Linked DNA regions of Homo sapiens: regions 2 and 3 are each linked to region 1. The links are contacts of gene promoters, found by promoter capture Hi-C in blood cells and fetal thymus (Javierre and others, 2016). All regions are on one chromosome and are shown on one strand. The core of a region is centred on a gene start or on the middle of the fragment in contact, and the rest is flanking DNA. Distances in the headings are between cores, read along the strand shown.

Region 1 (4,746 bases), core at 1,672-4,171:
AGTGGAAATACAAACCATGCCATAGAGCTGGACAAGCATAGTCACAGTGTAGTATGGAAATGTGTGACATTGCTATGTGGACACTGTGGACACTGCCATGTCCATTTCTGTACTTTTGAAACAGAAAGGAAATATGAAATACTGGATATGATATGTGAGAAAGAATGTAACTTGAAAACCTGGTTAATTTCTAGACCTTTCAAACTATCTCAATTGCTCCACTTTTCAGGGAAAAGACAGTGTATAAAGTAAATTTTTCCCTCAAATATGACATTTGAAGAATTACAAAATTTTCATTTTGTCTGGCGATTTTCCTAACTAAATTTAAATTTACAGTCATCTTCTTGCAAATGTTGCCAGAAACAAAACGGAGTCACTAAGGAAAAAAAAAAAAAACTGGCAGAGCTAGGGAAGACTATGCAGAGAGGGTTCTCACACTTGTATACCTAATAAGAACAACTACCACGAAAGACTCTGCAAAAACCACAACCTTGAAAAGGCCATCACAACCTTACATGAAAAATGCCTCAAAGACATCTGCCCTGCCAGCAACTGTCTGTTTAACCTCTGACTGGTGTCACCGTTGTTATTGATATTTGTAGGCAAGGATAATTATTTCAAAACAAATATGTAATTCTCTTAATTTTTTTTCTTTAAAAAATTTGCCTTCCTTTACCTCCCTGAGTATGCACATCGTTTACTATTGCATATATATTCCCATTGCAATGCTCTATTCTCAAATAAATATCTTTTTCTTTTAGAGAGCCTCTTTTTCTGTTTGTTATTTAGGTAGACATTCTGCACATATTTGGCAAAAACTTACACGCTGTTGAAACTGAAACCAAGACCTCTTCCTCTATCTTCCATCTCTCAGGCACAACTCAATTTCTAACTCAGTCTTTGGCAATACTAATATTCCTTTCTGGTAACATAATTTTGACTGGATTACTGTTCTCATGTTTTAGGCCTAACTTGTTTAAAAATTTGATGAGTGGCCGGGCGTGGTGGATCATGCCTGTAATCCTGGCACTTTGGGAGGCTGAGGTGGGCAGATCACAAGGTCAGGAGATCAAGACCATCCTGGCCAACATGGTGAAACACAGTCTCTACTAAAAATACAAACATTAGCTGGGCATAGTGGCACATGCCTACAGTTCCAGCTACTTAGGAGGCTGAGGCAGGAGAATCACTTGAACCCAAGAGGCAGAGGCTGCAGTGAGCCGAGATCATGCCACTGCACTCCAGCCTGGGCAACAGAGCAAGACTCTGTCTCAAGAAAAAAAAAAGTTTGATGAGTGTGGGGCTAGTGTTGTGATAGTCTCCTGTGCCCTGCCAACTCTTTTGGATTATTTTTTAAAATGAGGAACATTTCAGATTTAGTTTGTAGCAATTCAACTTTGGGAGTCTTGCAAGAACTCACTTATTTTAATGGAAAATAGCCCAGGTTGTCTACCAGCTTTTCCTGAGCTCTGTTTTGGGTGTTCTACCCAAAATAAAAAACGTATAAACACAAAAATAGTAATGTTCATGTCTGTGACAGCCAATGTTAAGTCTCTGCTGTTGTCTATGGCTGTTATCCAAAAAGTAGATTCAATTCTGTCATGTATTGGAGTCTGGGAATGTTGTTAAGAGATACATACATTGAAATTTGGAGAGCTGCTCTGTATTTATCAATTAGGCAGTAATAATCTTGGATGAAGGCTAGTCTTATTAATGTTGTGAACCAGTCTTATTAATGTTGTGAACCAGTAGTGTCCCCAGGAATAGAGAACACTACACTACTCACTTTGCATTTTCTTATCCACATAATAGAATTAGTTAGTGATAACCCTCTTTACTCGGAATCGATTGCTGCCACATTTCTGCATGATACATAGATCTCTGCAAATATGTGATTTTTTTCCTAAATGGAGAAAATCCAAAAATTCTTCTTAAAATTTTTCATGGGCATACAAGAAGATAGGAGGTGACATCTTAAAACAAGTATCTCTGAACTTTTTGTATAAAAAAAAGCAACCTCTTTGCTCTATTATTAATACCACATGTGGTGATATGAATGCCCAAATGTAGACAGCAGTTATGAGATATTACAAGAGAAGAAAAAAGCTCTGCCGCTTATGGCAACTTACCCAAAAAGTTATCTTTGACTTAGGCTGGAGGTGCACATAGCATAGCTCCTAGAGTTCTGTTTATGTCATGAATATTTGTTACTCAAAACTCCATAGGCCAAGAGCTCCTGAAGAGAAGGTCACATGCTAGCAGCAATTGTCATTTTTTCCCTCAAATATTGCTATAGTATAATTTTGTTTGAATTATAAACTTCAGTCTTTATTATATTTGATTCTGGCATTTTGGTTTGTAGTGCTATAGTACAGGAAATGTTTTAAATGCTTTGCCTTTATGTAAGTGAATATCGGTACACACACATACACATACACACACAGACACAGACACACACACACACACACTCACAGCCAGTTTAGAATGTGGGGTAAGGAACACCAGACAAAGAGGGCAATATAAGAAAGAGAAGACATTGAAAACATTGGGAAGAGGCAGTAACAGAGTGCCAGAGAAGATAAGGCAGCTGGGAGGGGGAGAAACTAAGTGAGGTGGATAAACTAAAAGCATCCTTCTGGGTTAAAGCAGACTAAAAGCTTAGCAATTGCTTAATATCACCATCTTATCCTATAGATGTGGGAATAAAGGCTAAGGAAGGAGAAATGAAAATGCAGAATCATATGGGGGCTTTTCCAAGGAGGTATGAAGGAAGGTGAGGACAGGGAGAGCGGCTGGAAGTCAGGGGGTAAGAGAAACTCTAAAAATCAGGGCTTGAGGGAAATAAAAGGTGAGGTAAGAGGCTCAGGGCTGTGGGAGGCACATTTTTCTCTGAAAAGCAGTTTGGATGAGGAAGAGATTTGGCAGTTGGAAGAGAGAAGAAGTCACTACAGGGTACTGAGGAAAAGCTTTGCTGAAATTGGAGATCAAATACCAGCTCTGCCAGTAAGAAGTTGCATCTCCCAGTGAAATGCTGCTGCTGCCATTTCAACTGTTAGCTGTTCTCTTTCCTGGTGGTAACAGTGAACATGGTAAGAGTCACTCTGGCAGCTCCCAGCACTGGTGCAGGGGTTTGGATTTTAAAAAGCAAGCAGGGCTTTCCTAGGTGCAATTGGACACTAAGGGTCTGGGTCTTTCTGTCTCCCGCCCTCTTCAACCATTCTGGTGGTTGGGACTAGAACCTGAAGCCTTAAGGCAGTCAAATGTGTCAGACTTCCTGTGTTCTTTAGACTCTAGGTTCTTGTTTTCTAAATCATTTTCATTCCCATTCTTCCTAATTGTCTCCTGCTTCTCTCTTTATCTTCACCATCTTGCTTTTCCACTCTTCACAGCCTTCCAGGGGCCGACCTCCTTTCATGTTATCCAGACCTCGTCCTTTACCAATAGTACCTGGGCACAAACTCAAGGCTCAGGCTGGTTGGATGATTTGCAGATTCATGGCTGGGATAGCGACTCAGGCACTGCCATATTCCTGAAGCCTTGGTCTAAAGGTAACTTTAGTGATAAGGAGGTTGCTGAGTTAGAGGAGATATTCCGAGTCTACATCTTTGGATTCGCTCGAGAAGTACAAGACTTTGCCGGTGATTTCCAGATGAAATGTGAGTCTAGTCCACCGAACTGGGAAGAGTCTCAAGGACTCTCTTTTCTCTCTTTTTTGCAAAGTGTTGCTCTCTCTGATGCTTCTCCCTTCCTTTCTATTTTACCCAAATGCACGCACATGCTTTTCTTGAGTAGTCTCTCACTCCAGCTTCACACCATCACACCTCATATTTCAGATTCTTGCTGCCTCTGCACTCTTCTCTTACTCTCAGACTGTCTTCCACTTTGTAACCAGCTGCTGGTTTGTCTTATGTGAAACTTCTCCTCAAGGGCCCTTACTTCTCCTACCCTGTGCCTGAGTGATCTAACGTGTGGCTTTCTCCCCTAATCCATCTTTTCAATCATCTCCTCCCCGCACCCTCCTCTTGCTGGGAACCTCCACTCACTCTGGAATGCTGCACTCCTGACTGCACCACGCTCTGCCTCACCTCTCCTTTCATACTCACTGTACTCCTTTATCACATACCTTTGTCTTCATGGCATGCACATTTTTCTCAATGCTCTTGTTTCTGAAAATGTCTAAATGTTATCATTAGTTTTTAGCTCATCATCATTTTACACCAAATAACTTTATCCCCACCAAAATCTAAAATCCTAGGTTCTTTTCTCATGCCTTTTTTTCTTATTTGTGTTTAATAACTTGCTCTCTTTTCCCTCTACATAGACCCCTTTGAGATCCAGGGCATAGCAGGCTGTGAGCTACATTCTGGAGGTGCCATAGTAAGCTTCCTGAGGGGAGCTCTAGGAGGATTGGATTTCCTGAGTGTCAAGAATGCTTCATGTGTGCCTTCCCCAGAAGGTGGCAGCAGGGCACAGAAATTCTGTGCACTAATCATACAATATCAAGGTATCATGGAAACTGTGAGAATTCTCCTCTATGAAACCTGCCCCCGATATCTCTTGGGCGTCCTCAATGCAGGAAAAGCAGATCTGCAAAGACAAGGTTAGTCCTGCTGTTATTTCACTTCCCACCACCTCCTCTAAGATCAAGAGTAGGAAGATATCAAAGGATAGGAGCTTAAATAACAAGTTATTTGGTTCCCAAAGGAGTGAATGGGGTCGCTGTCCAAGCTTGTAGGTTTCTGAGTT
Region 2 (4,746 bases), core at 1,010-3,509, 330 kb after region 1:
TCTGAAGCGGACCTAGGATGGGACAGCTTCCTGGGATAAACCTGCTGGGCACAGAGTACACCTCCAGACACTCGGGTTCCTGTTATCCCTTCCCTGCCTCAAAACCCAAGACCCACAGCATTCTGGGTGAGTCTCCCATCACCTTCCAGAGCCAGATTGCAAAAGGAATGAAGCGGCAGCATTCTCTCCTGGGAAACTAATGGAATTTGCTAGAGAGTTCTGGAGATTTCTACCCCTGGATTTAAGACCCTTAATCCTGAGGAGGTTGACTGGCTGCAAGGCTCATTTATTTCAATACGATGCCTATTTTGTTAAATGGGCTCAAGGAGGGCAGAGAGGGATGAGGACTGCAGCCCCTGGAGACAACAGAGGTTAATAAAAGTGGCTGAATAAATTAAATATGGAGGGAAGGACAAGCTGGGAGCTTGGAGTCAGCTGATAGAGGGAGAGTAAGTGGGATAGAAAGAAAAAACAAAAGTGTCATACTTCAGTGATGTCTGCGAGCTACAGCAGCTTTTATCCTGGATGCTCCAAGAACTTAATTAGGTTCGCATTGTCTGACAATCAGACGTAGGAAGGTATAAGAGCTGGAGCTACAGAATGGAGAGGGACCAGTGTTACAGAATGAGGAACCCCAAGCTTCTTTCTCAACTTTCATAACTTCACAGTTTGTGCATCTATCAGAGAGGATGCAGGGCATGCAAGGCAAGGCAAAAAGTAGTGCCTTTAAAGACACAGGAGGGCTGCTATGGCTGGAAGAAAAATGACTCACAAAAATGTACTACTGTTGCACACTAGTGCTCTGGTGACTGAAAAGGCTTGGGTAAAGATGAGAGATATCTGTCCAGATGTGTATGGGGATGGGGATAAGAAGTGGGTGCATGTATAGCTGCACTATGAAGGCATGTGTGAATACATATGCATATGCATATGCATGCAGTGAGATTGCATCCACACGCTTGCATGCAGCAGTAATGCAGAACAGGTAGGTGTGCAGTCTTCCTTCTAGGAATTATCCTCAGCCCCCACCCCATCTTTCCTGCTTGGGTTCTAGTTCTGGCTCTGTCACTTACTAGCTGGATCATCTTGGACAATCTGCTTAACTTCTTTGGATCCCTGTTTGTCCATCTGTAAAATGGGGATAACACCTAACTTCAACAATTATGTCAGTATTGAATTAGTTACTAATGCATGTAAAATACAAAATTGCCCTTCACAAAAGTGAACGGATTTCTCCCCCACTCTGAGAGAGCCCATTATTTTTCCTGATTTCTGAAATTGCCTCTTCCTCCTCCCTGGTTTCACATTTGAGGATCAAGGACATGACAGCCTCTTTCTCCTCTACTGCTGACAACCCACCCCCACACCCCCATCCTTTTCCAGGTCAAAGAACCCTCCAGGAGATTGCCAAGTAAACTGGTCCAGAGGCCCTGGGAAGAAACCAGACAGGAACTGGTAGGTCGGGAAGGGGCATAACTTTCTCATCTCTGGACATATGAAGAGAAATGTCTCTAGCCTCAGATGGAAACATCTCCCAGAAATTGGGGAGATTAAGGAATTTGTCCCCATCCCTTCCCTCCATACCAACTGCCACCCCTTTGCAATTTATTTAACTTCTCTAGGTCTCTGTTTTCTCATCTATTAAATGGAGAAACAACTCTCCTGCCTACACCATAGGATGAGTGTATCTCTCTATCAAATGGTACATGTGAAAAGTTGCTAAAATTGCCAAGCACCATACAGGTACAAAGATAAAAGACTCTAAACGTGGGAGGAAAAGGATTGAGGCTTTCCAAACCTCCTTCTGACAAGGGGCATTATTTACTGGTCCCAGCCCCACTGATTAAAACATGTATCCTGACATCTAAGTTTTGCTTCACAAATGATCATCAAAGCAAGGCAGGGAGATAGATGTGTCCTTGGAATTTCTGGGCTGAGAACTAGGGAAGGGGGCTGAGCTGAGTGAGGCACCAGGAGAGGAAAAAAGGCCTAGGCTTCCCTCCTGTCCTTCCACAGCTGCCTTAACTCTAAGAAAGGCAGGGTGTGGCTCTTCTAGGCAGGCTGAAGGGCACTCATGGCGCTTAGGAGGGAGACAAAAGAGGGGTTGAATCTGGGGTCTAACACCTCAGGTATGCCCTTCAGCAAGTTACTTAAACTCTCAACTGTGGTTTCTTCATCTATAAAATGGGAGTAACATTAACCTGAAAAGCACACTGTAGGAATTCAATAAAAGGTAATTTTGATGCTTTGGTATGGAGTTCACCTCCTACAATCACTTTTCACCACCCAAGGCCAGGCAGTTCCCCAGGGCACAGGCTAAGAAGGAGGGTTGAAAGCCTCCCCAGGCGGGTTAGAACAAGCCATCTAAGACCCTAGCCTCCAATCCTACCAGACTACCAGGGACCAGACAAATTTGGAAGCTGACACTTGGGGAGATCCTGGTCTCAGGATTATCCCCTAGACCCCTTCTCAGTGCTTCTTTTGCCTCTGTATGGCTCTGGGCCTCTCCAGGAGTCAGCCTTGCATGGAACAAGAATAATTCCCAAATTTGTAGTTCATGGACCTGTAACAAGGCTGTGTTTAATATTAGAAACAAACCTTTTTATTTGCCAAGTCCTTGAAAAAAGTCATTTACTAGATTTATCATATCATCAAAGAAAAACAATTTAACACCAAAAAATGTAGGACAGAATCTCAGAATAAAGGATTGTTTTTTAAATTTGAATGAGTTTACCTTTATGAAATACTCACTCCCTTTTCTTCCTAGTTCTCATTCTGCTATGGACCAGGAAAATCCCTGTCCCAGTCCAGCATCAGTCTCTGCTGGCATGTAGGATCTGGCAAAGGAGAAGGGTGCAGGCTGTGGGATCCACTGGTTCCTACAACTACCAATAAGATACTTAATGTATCTAAACCTCAGTTTCTTGGCCAGGTACAGTGGCTCACACCTATAATCCCGGCACTTTGGGAAGCCGAGATGTAAGAAGCGGTTGAGCCTTGGAGTTTGAGACTAGCTTGTGCAACCTAGCAAGACCCATCTCTCCAAAAGAAAAAAAAGAAAATTAGCCAGGTGTGTGTGGTCCTAGCTACTTAGGAGGCTGAGGTAGGAGAATGGCTTGAGCCTAGGAGGAGGTTGCAGTGAGCCATAATCACACCACTGCACCCTAGCCTGGGCAGCAGAGCAAGACCCTATCTAAAAAAATAAATAAATAAATCTCAGTTTCTCATCCATGAAATGGGGATAATTTACACAGCCAATCTCAGGGGGCTGTAGCATAGATTAAATTAGATAATGCATATGAAGTAGTTACACAGGGCTCAATAAATGATCCATATTATTTCCAGACTCTGAAATGCTGCCACCTCGGGGCTAGTGTCCCTCCTCATTTCACACAAGAGCTCTGGTTCCTTCTCACTCAAGTGCCAACCTCTTCCACTTTTGCTCTCTCTCCTCAAATCCCTTCCCCAGATCTTTTCTGAGGTCTCCAAGGAGGGGGTCAGTTTCCCCTTCTGGGTCTGCCACAACATAGTTCTTTCCATGAGAGATACAAAGAAGGCACTTACTGAAGCCCAGGACCAAGAATCTGGGGAGCTGGAGCTAGAAAACACACACACACACACACACACCCCACAAAGAATCATAGGGAGAAGAAAAGGAAGCGCAGACAACTTGACTGCCTGTCTATCTATGTCTCACCTCAAAGCCAAGATAGCAAGCATTTACTGAGCACTTCTCGCTGTGCCAGACACTGTTCCATGTACGTTACATGGATTAACATATTCAAGTGCCACCACAACCCTATGAGGTATTACTTCCATCCTCACTTCTGGAAGAGCATGCTGAGGCACAGGGAATGTACATGACTTGTTCAAGCTTACGACTACCAAATGGTGGAGGTGGGAGCTGGATGCGAGTCTGTGATTTAATCGCCATCGAATGCTGCCTCTTTCCAGCACTGCAGCGCGCTCATCAAATCAATCAATTGATCAGATATTTAAGGGGCACTTACCACCAGAAACTATAGGATAAAAGAAATTAAGACTTAGTCCTTGTAAGGGTGTAAAGAGGTCCTAGGGGGGCAGAGGTGGGGCTTCCTCCTCCCATCTCACTGGAGCGCCAAAGGCAGAGCCAGAACAACCAACCACTCAGCTGTGGGAAGGAGCAGAGGCGAGAAGGCCTGGATGCCTCCTCCTCCTCCTCCTGACCAGGTGCTCTGGGGCCCAGGGCTGAGGCACTGAGTACTTGGTTCACACCCTCCCTTTGGGTCTAAGTGAGTAGAAGGCAGAAAGTGGAGTTCAGTCAAGGTCAAAGAGAGGAACCCAGTGTCCTGGTTTCTGCCATGTCTCCCCTGACTCTTCCCCAACCTCAGCGCCCTGCTCTGGGCAGAAGTGGGACATCTAAAGTGTGTATATGTGTCTATGTGTAGCACCGAAAGGGGAGAGTCCAGTTACTCTCCAGACCTGCTGTTCTCTGCCAGGATTCAGCTGTACTCAGGGAGTTGAATCCTGGGAATTTAGGAGGCCCTCGGGCCTCCTCCCTTTACCCTTTACTCCCCTCAAAAGCTGTGGCAGGAATGCCAGGGGGAGCTCTGGGGGCTGGGTGGGCTTATTTTTCTCCTGCCCCCACATCCATCCCCCCCACGGAGGCAGCTCCCTCCCCGAGCCGGCCTGTCATCCCACATTGCTCTGATTAGCTATAATCTTTCTTTTTCAATTTCTCCTCCCCGAGACTAGGGAGCGAGAAAA
Region 3 (4,746 bases), core at 414-2,913, 320 kb before region 1:
ACAGCTGTAATCCCAGCACTTTGGGTGGCCGAGGCAGGAGGATTGCTTTAGGCCGAGAGTTGTAGACCAACCTGGGCAACAAAGCAAGACATTGTCTCCACAAAAAAATAAAAAATGAAAAATTAGCCCAGTGTGGTGGCACAGGCCTATGGTCCCAACTACTTGGGAGGTTGAGCTGGGAGGATCACTTGAGCCAGGAGGCTGAGGCTACAGTGAGCCTTGATCAAGCCATTGCACTCCAGCCTATTGCAACAGAGTGAGACCCTTATCTTCAAAATCAAAACAGAAAGAAAGAAACTTGAAGTTGAAACAGGAGGTTTAAGTAATTACATTTCTCAACTAGAAGCTGACAGTAGAGGGCAACAGACATCACATTGACTATCAGCTCATTCAACATTTTTCTTGTTTGATTTTCAAACTAAGAAACACAAAGACACATACAAAAAAGTAAACAAACAAAACAGAAACTAAACACCTTCATTGTGTATAAATGTATTTTTGATGATGCAGGGAAGGAAAAACAGACTCAGACAGGTCTGTGTGTGTAGAATGCTTAAGATAGAAAGCTATGGAAATATGATGGTTAAGCATGTGACTGCTGTCAGATGGCCTGGTTCAAGCTTAGGCTCCACCATTCAGCAGTGGTATAATCTTGAGAAAATACTTACCCTCTTTAGTCCTCAGTTTTCTGATCTATTTAATGGGAATAGTAATAGTAACTATGCTTCTTGGAGTTGTGAAGATTAAATGAGCCTAAGTTTCTAGCACATAAAAAACAATGATGATAATTGGTTGGGGTGGGGGGGTGGGTGGGAGGATGGTGAGTGGTAGTGATGATAACTTTCTTGTGACCCCCACTAGCCTGCCTCTGGTACATATCCTTACTTTTGAACTCTCTACTCTCTTGTATACCAGAGAAGCAGATGACACGAAGGAGCAGATTGAGAAGAAATGCCAGGCCCTCAGTGCTGCAGACCCTGGCTCAGATCTGTTCAGTGTTCAGGCTCTTCAGCGACGGCATGAGGGCTTTGAAAGGGACCTCGTACCCCTGGGAGATAAGGTGAGACAAGTCCTTCAAAGCTTTTCCAACACTTTCCAGTCTATATTTAGCCGTATACCAATGCCCTCTTCTTTGGTTCTCTTTTTCAGTCTTTTATTCTTATATTTCTCTCTGTTCTGTGCCATATTTATTCTTGTACACTGTCCCTAAGGCAAGACCATGAAAAGGATATGCCCCATGACCATTAACATGGGGAAAAAACTTGTTAAACTCCTGCTGTCTGAGTGAGCACCCTATATCCCCTTGCCTCTTTGGTGGGTTACAAGTGACCAGATCTTGTGGCAGCTAGGTGGAGGCCAGTAGCCCAGAAGAAATAGCAAATGTCCATACCCAGGATGATCAGGCCAATATCTGAGTATGGTGCATGTTTTTCTTAGCAAGGAATTGAATGAGTTGTTTAACTCTGTTTCAACCCAAAAGTGTACTCTGGAGCTTGTCAGATATACTCAGAGGCTTGGCATTATCATGCAGAGCAAAAAGAAGCTCCTCACATGAAGAATCAAGACCCTTGGGTTTCCTAATTGAGGTTGCCACTAACCAGCAGAGTCACTTAACCACTCTTCCCCACAACTCTCTTATTTTTAAAAAGAAGTATGGTAATGCCAATTGTAACTACCTTAGGGAGTTATGTGGACTAAAAGGTTGATATTATTTTGTAAAGTATGATGACATACTTGTACATCACTGATATCTATTTGAGGAGCTGAATACTGGGACTCAGGATTCTCCTTTTGCTAAGATTCAGGTGTGTCTCTAGGCTGATTATCAGAGCTATTGTACCTCCCCAGGTGACCATACTGGGGGAGACAGCAGAGCGGCTCAGTGAGTCCCATCCAGATGCCACTGAGGACCTGCAGAGACAGAAAATGGAGCTGAATGAGGCCTGGGAAGACCTGCAGGGGCGTACAAAGGATCGTAAGGAGAGCCTAAATGAGGCCCAGAAATTCTACCTGTTCCTCAGCAAGGCCAGGTAGAGTGGGGTGGGTAACTTCCGTGTCTGGCCTCTAAGTAGACTGTCTGGGAGCAGTCTGGGTACAGATGCTGTTCACTGCTGGTTTTGGAGGGCATCACTACGTTTAAGTCTCACCTCTTGCAAGGCATAAAAAATTTCAGGTTTGAAACTAGAAGCAATAAAATACAAAGTTTGAAAGAATATGAAGCCATGTAGGCCAATTAAGTAAGCTTCTATAATGTAGAAGCTTTTTTGTTCTACTGAAGAGACAGTAGTATTCAGTCTTCTACTGTATTCAGTATTCTGTTGAATACAAATAACTATGGTAGAACATAATGAGGCCGAAAACACACATTGTAACAAACAGCAGTGGGAATTCAGAGTTGGGTAGAATAGATGATGCACTGTAGATAAAGTAACATTTTATTACACCTTATCAGTCAAACTTTTAACAGAAGAGAAAACAATTCATGTAGACTGAACTGTGCAAAAAAAGACATAATCATGAGAAAAGAATAAGCATAAGAACATGTTTGGGGAGGGGGTGGTAAGGAGAAGTAGTAAGAGATAAACTTAAAAATAATATTGGGACCAAATTCCAGAGAACTGTGAATATCTTACTAAAGTCTAGACATTATCACAATCCAAAATTCACCTCTCAAACATATACTTTGTGGAACAGTTCCCACGTTTGGCTCTATCGCATCAGTCAGCTGAGAGGAGCATTAGAGTAGAGGGTCCAGGAAGTTGTAGCTCTCAATGCAATGCTTTTCAAGAAAAAAGGAGGCAAATTTTGGCAAATGACTGTAGTTCCTCTTGGAAATCCCCTCCCCAGTTCAGCACTGGAAAGCTATAGTTTTTGACACAGTTTAAATAAATAGCACCCACACCCATTCCAATGGTGCTTCCTTCCCTTTATGAAGCTGTACTCCTCAGTATTTCAGAGTAGTGTTCCCACCCCTGAGCAACATTAACATCTTATTTTACTCCATATGATACTTTTGCTTTCAGTTTTGTTTTTTAATTGCTATTAGTGCCTATGCTCTGTTTTTTGTTTGTTTTTTGTTTTGTTTTGTTTTGTTTTTATCCATTCTTAACCTAAAGTATGAGTTCCTAGAAGGCACAGATATGCCTTTTTCACAATGTTTGGTACTTAGTAAGCACCCAATAAAACTTAGTTGCTTGAATAAATAAATTTACAAAAGAAGAGACCTCTCTTTCCTAGAGCTAAGGGTTCCTGTTGAGCAAACAAGAGTAATGACATTCTTTATGAGATGCTTAATTTATACACCATATATGCTTTAAAGTTAATGCATAGTTAAAATTTGCCTTTTAAGAAGATAGACCTTAGTTTTGCTCGTCTAACTTCCTGACTACTAAAAGGGTAGGGAAATAGACCTTGATTTAATCAACAGTGTGGAGGCCTGTGTGTGTATGTGTATGTTGGCCAAAATATGTGCTAGATTCACTTGAGAATAAAAGTAAGAGGAAAGACATGATTTCTTTGAGACTCTGTAATAAGATGTATCTTCAAACCCTAGAAACCACTTAAAAGGAACAGTAACCAACAGAAGTAATGAAATATATAACAGTCCAGGATTCCAGAGGTCTAGGTTTTATTGAAGATGTCTGCTTTTAGTTATACCACATAGGCAGATTAATTACCTTTTCTAAGGTGACTTCTTTATCTCCATAATGAAAACAAAAAATTCCCGGAATCTCTGCAGGATTACTGCAAGAATTGAAAAAGATAATAAAAGTGAAGAGGCTTTCAAATACAAGGGATTGTTATCATTAGGTGATATAATAAAAACAGCAAACGTAAGATCTGTAAAGCATATAAAGCCAGATAAAAAATGTTATTCTGGAAATGTTTTCTAGAGAATGGAAAACTGTAGGACAAACAGCACTGTAGCAAGTTGCAAGGTTTTCTTGTCAATTCCAATGTGTCTGTTTATCTAGGGATCTGCAGAACTGGATCAGTAGCATTGGTGGCATGGTATCATCACAGGAGCTGGCCGAAGACTTAACTGGCATAGAGATCTTGCTGGAGAGACATCAGGTAAAACTACAAAAGTCACAGCCACTGATCACTTGACCTGAAACCTCTACTAATTTTAAAATTTCCAATGGAGTTGGCCTCACTGATTTCTTCCCCCTTTTTCCCACAGGAGCACCGTGCTGACATGGAGGCAGAGGCTCCCACCTTCCAGGCCTTAGAGGACTTCAGTGCAGAACTTATCGACAGTGGGCACCATGCTAGCCCTGAAATTGAAAAAAAGCTTCAAGCTGTCAAGCTAGAGAGAGATGATTTGGAGAAGGCTTGGGAAAAACGCAAGAAGATCCTAGACCAGTGCCTGGAGTTGCAGGTACAGCAAATTTCCCAATTGTTAAGCAGGTTCAGTAGTCTGTTTCTCCTATGCAATTTCATATGGTCATTACAGGCTCCGTTCACTAGACTTTCCACGTTATAAACACAAAGGGAGCTCATCTCTTAATTACCTAGCATTGTACTATGCTTTCTATACCGATCATTGTCATATTCTCTGCTCTTTCTTGTTAGAAGAGCCAAACAAGATGGTGATCAGTCCTGAGCATGAGGTGGGTTGACTATCATTTGTTGATTGACTGAGGAATTGATTGGCTGATTTTTGTTGAGACTCTACTCTGTGGAGGCTCGGAGTGCCACAAAGATTAGTAAGATAGTTTCCCATTTCTTAAATAGTGAAATTAG

Evidence for each region. The method cuts DNA at HindIII sites, captures the fragments that hold promoters and counts their contacts. A CHiCAGO score of 5 or more calls a contact.
Region 2: a contact is called between a fragment that was not itself captured here and the fragment with the promoter of CD1B in region 1, in 1 of 17 cell types (fetal thymus). The highest score is 5.6, in fetal thymus.
Region 3: a fragment that was not itself captured here is called in contact with the fragment with the promoter of CD1B in region 1 in 1 of 17 cell types (fetal thymus); the score reaches 10.3 in fetal thymus.

What each region holds. Positions count from the first base shown.
Region 1 is chr1:158,329,706-158,334,451 of GRCh38, reverse strand. CD1B (CD1b molecule) reads left to right here and starts at 2,921. Exons shown (of 6, transcript NM_001764.3): 1 at 2,921-3,089; 2 at 3,390-3,656; 3 at 4,322-4,600. The coding sequence starts at 3,029. The HindIII fragment of the contact is 309 bases long and covers 2,660-2,968 here.
Region 2 is chr1:157,996,350-158,001,095 of GRCh38, reverse strand. All of the region lies in intron 1 of KIRREL1 (kirre like nephrin family adhesion molecule 1), which reads right to left. Among named protein-coding and RNA genes, the nearest start is that of KIRREL1, 5.1 kb to the right of the region's middle. The HindIII fragment of the contact is 3,235 bases long and covers 642-3,876 here.
Region 3 is chr1:158,644,823-158,649,568 of GRCh38, reverse strand. It overlaps SPTA1 (spectrin alpha, erythrocytic 1), which reads left to right. Exons shown (of 52, transcript NM_003126.4): 26 at 916-1,060; 27 at 1,849-2,030; 28 at 3,975-4,074; 29 at 4,184-4,381. Among named protein-coding and RNA genes, the nearest start is that of SPTA1, 40 kb to the left of the region's middle. The HindIII fragment of the contact is 1,162 bases long and covers 1,083-2,244 here.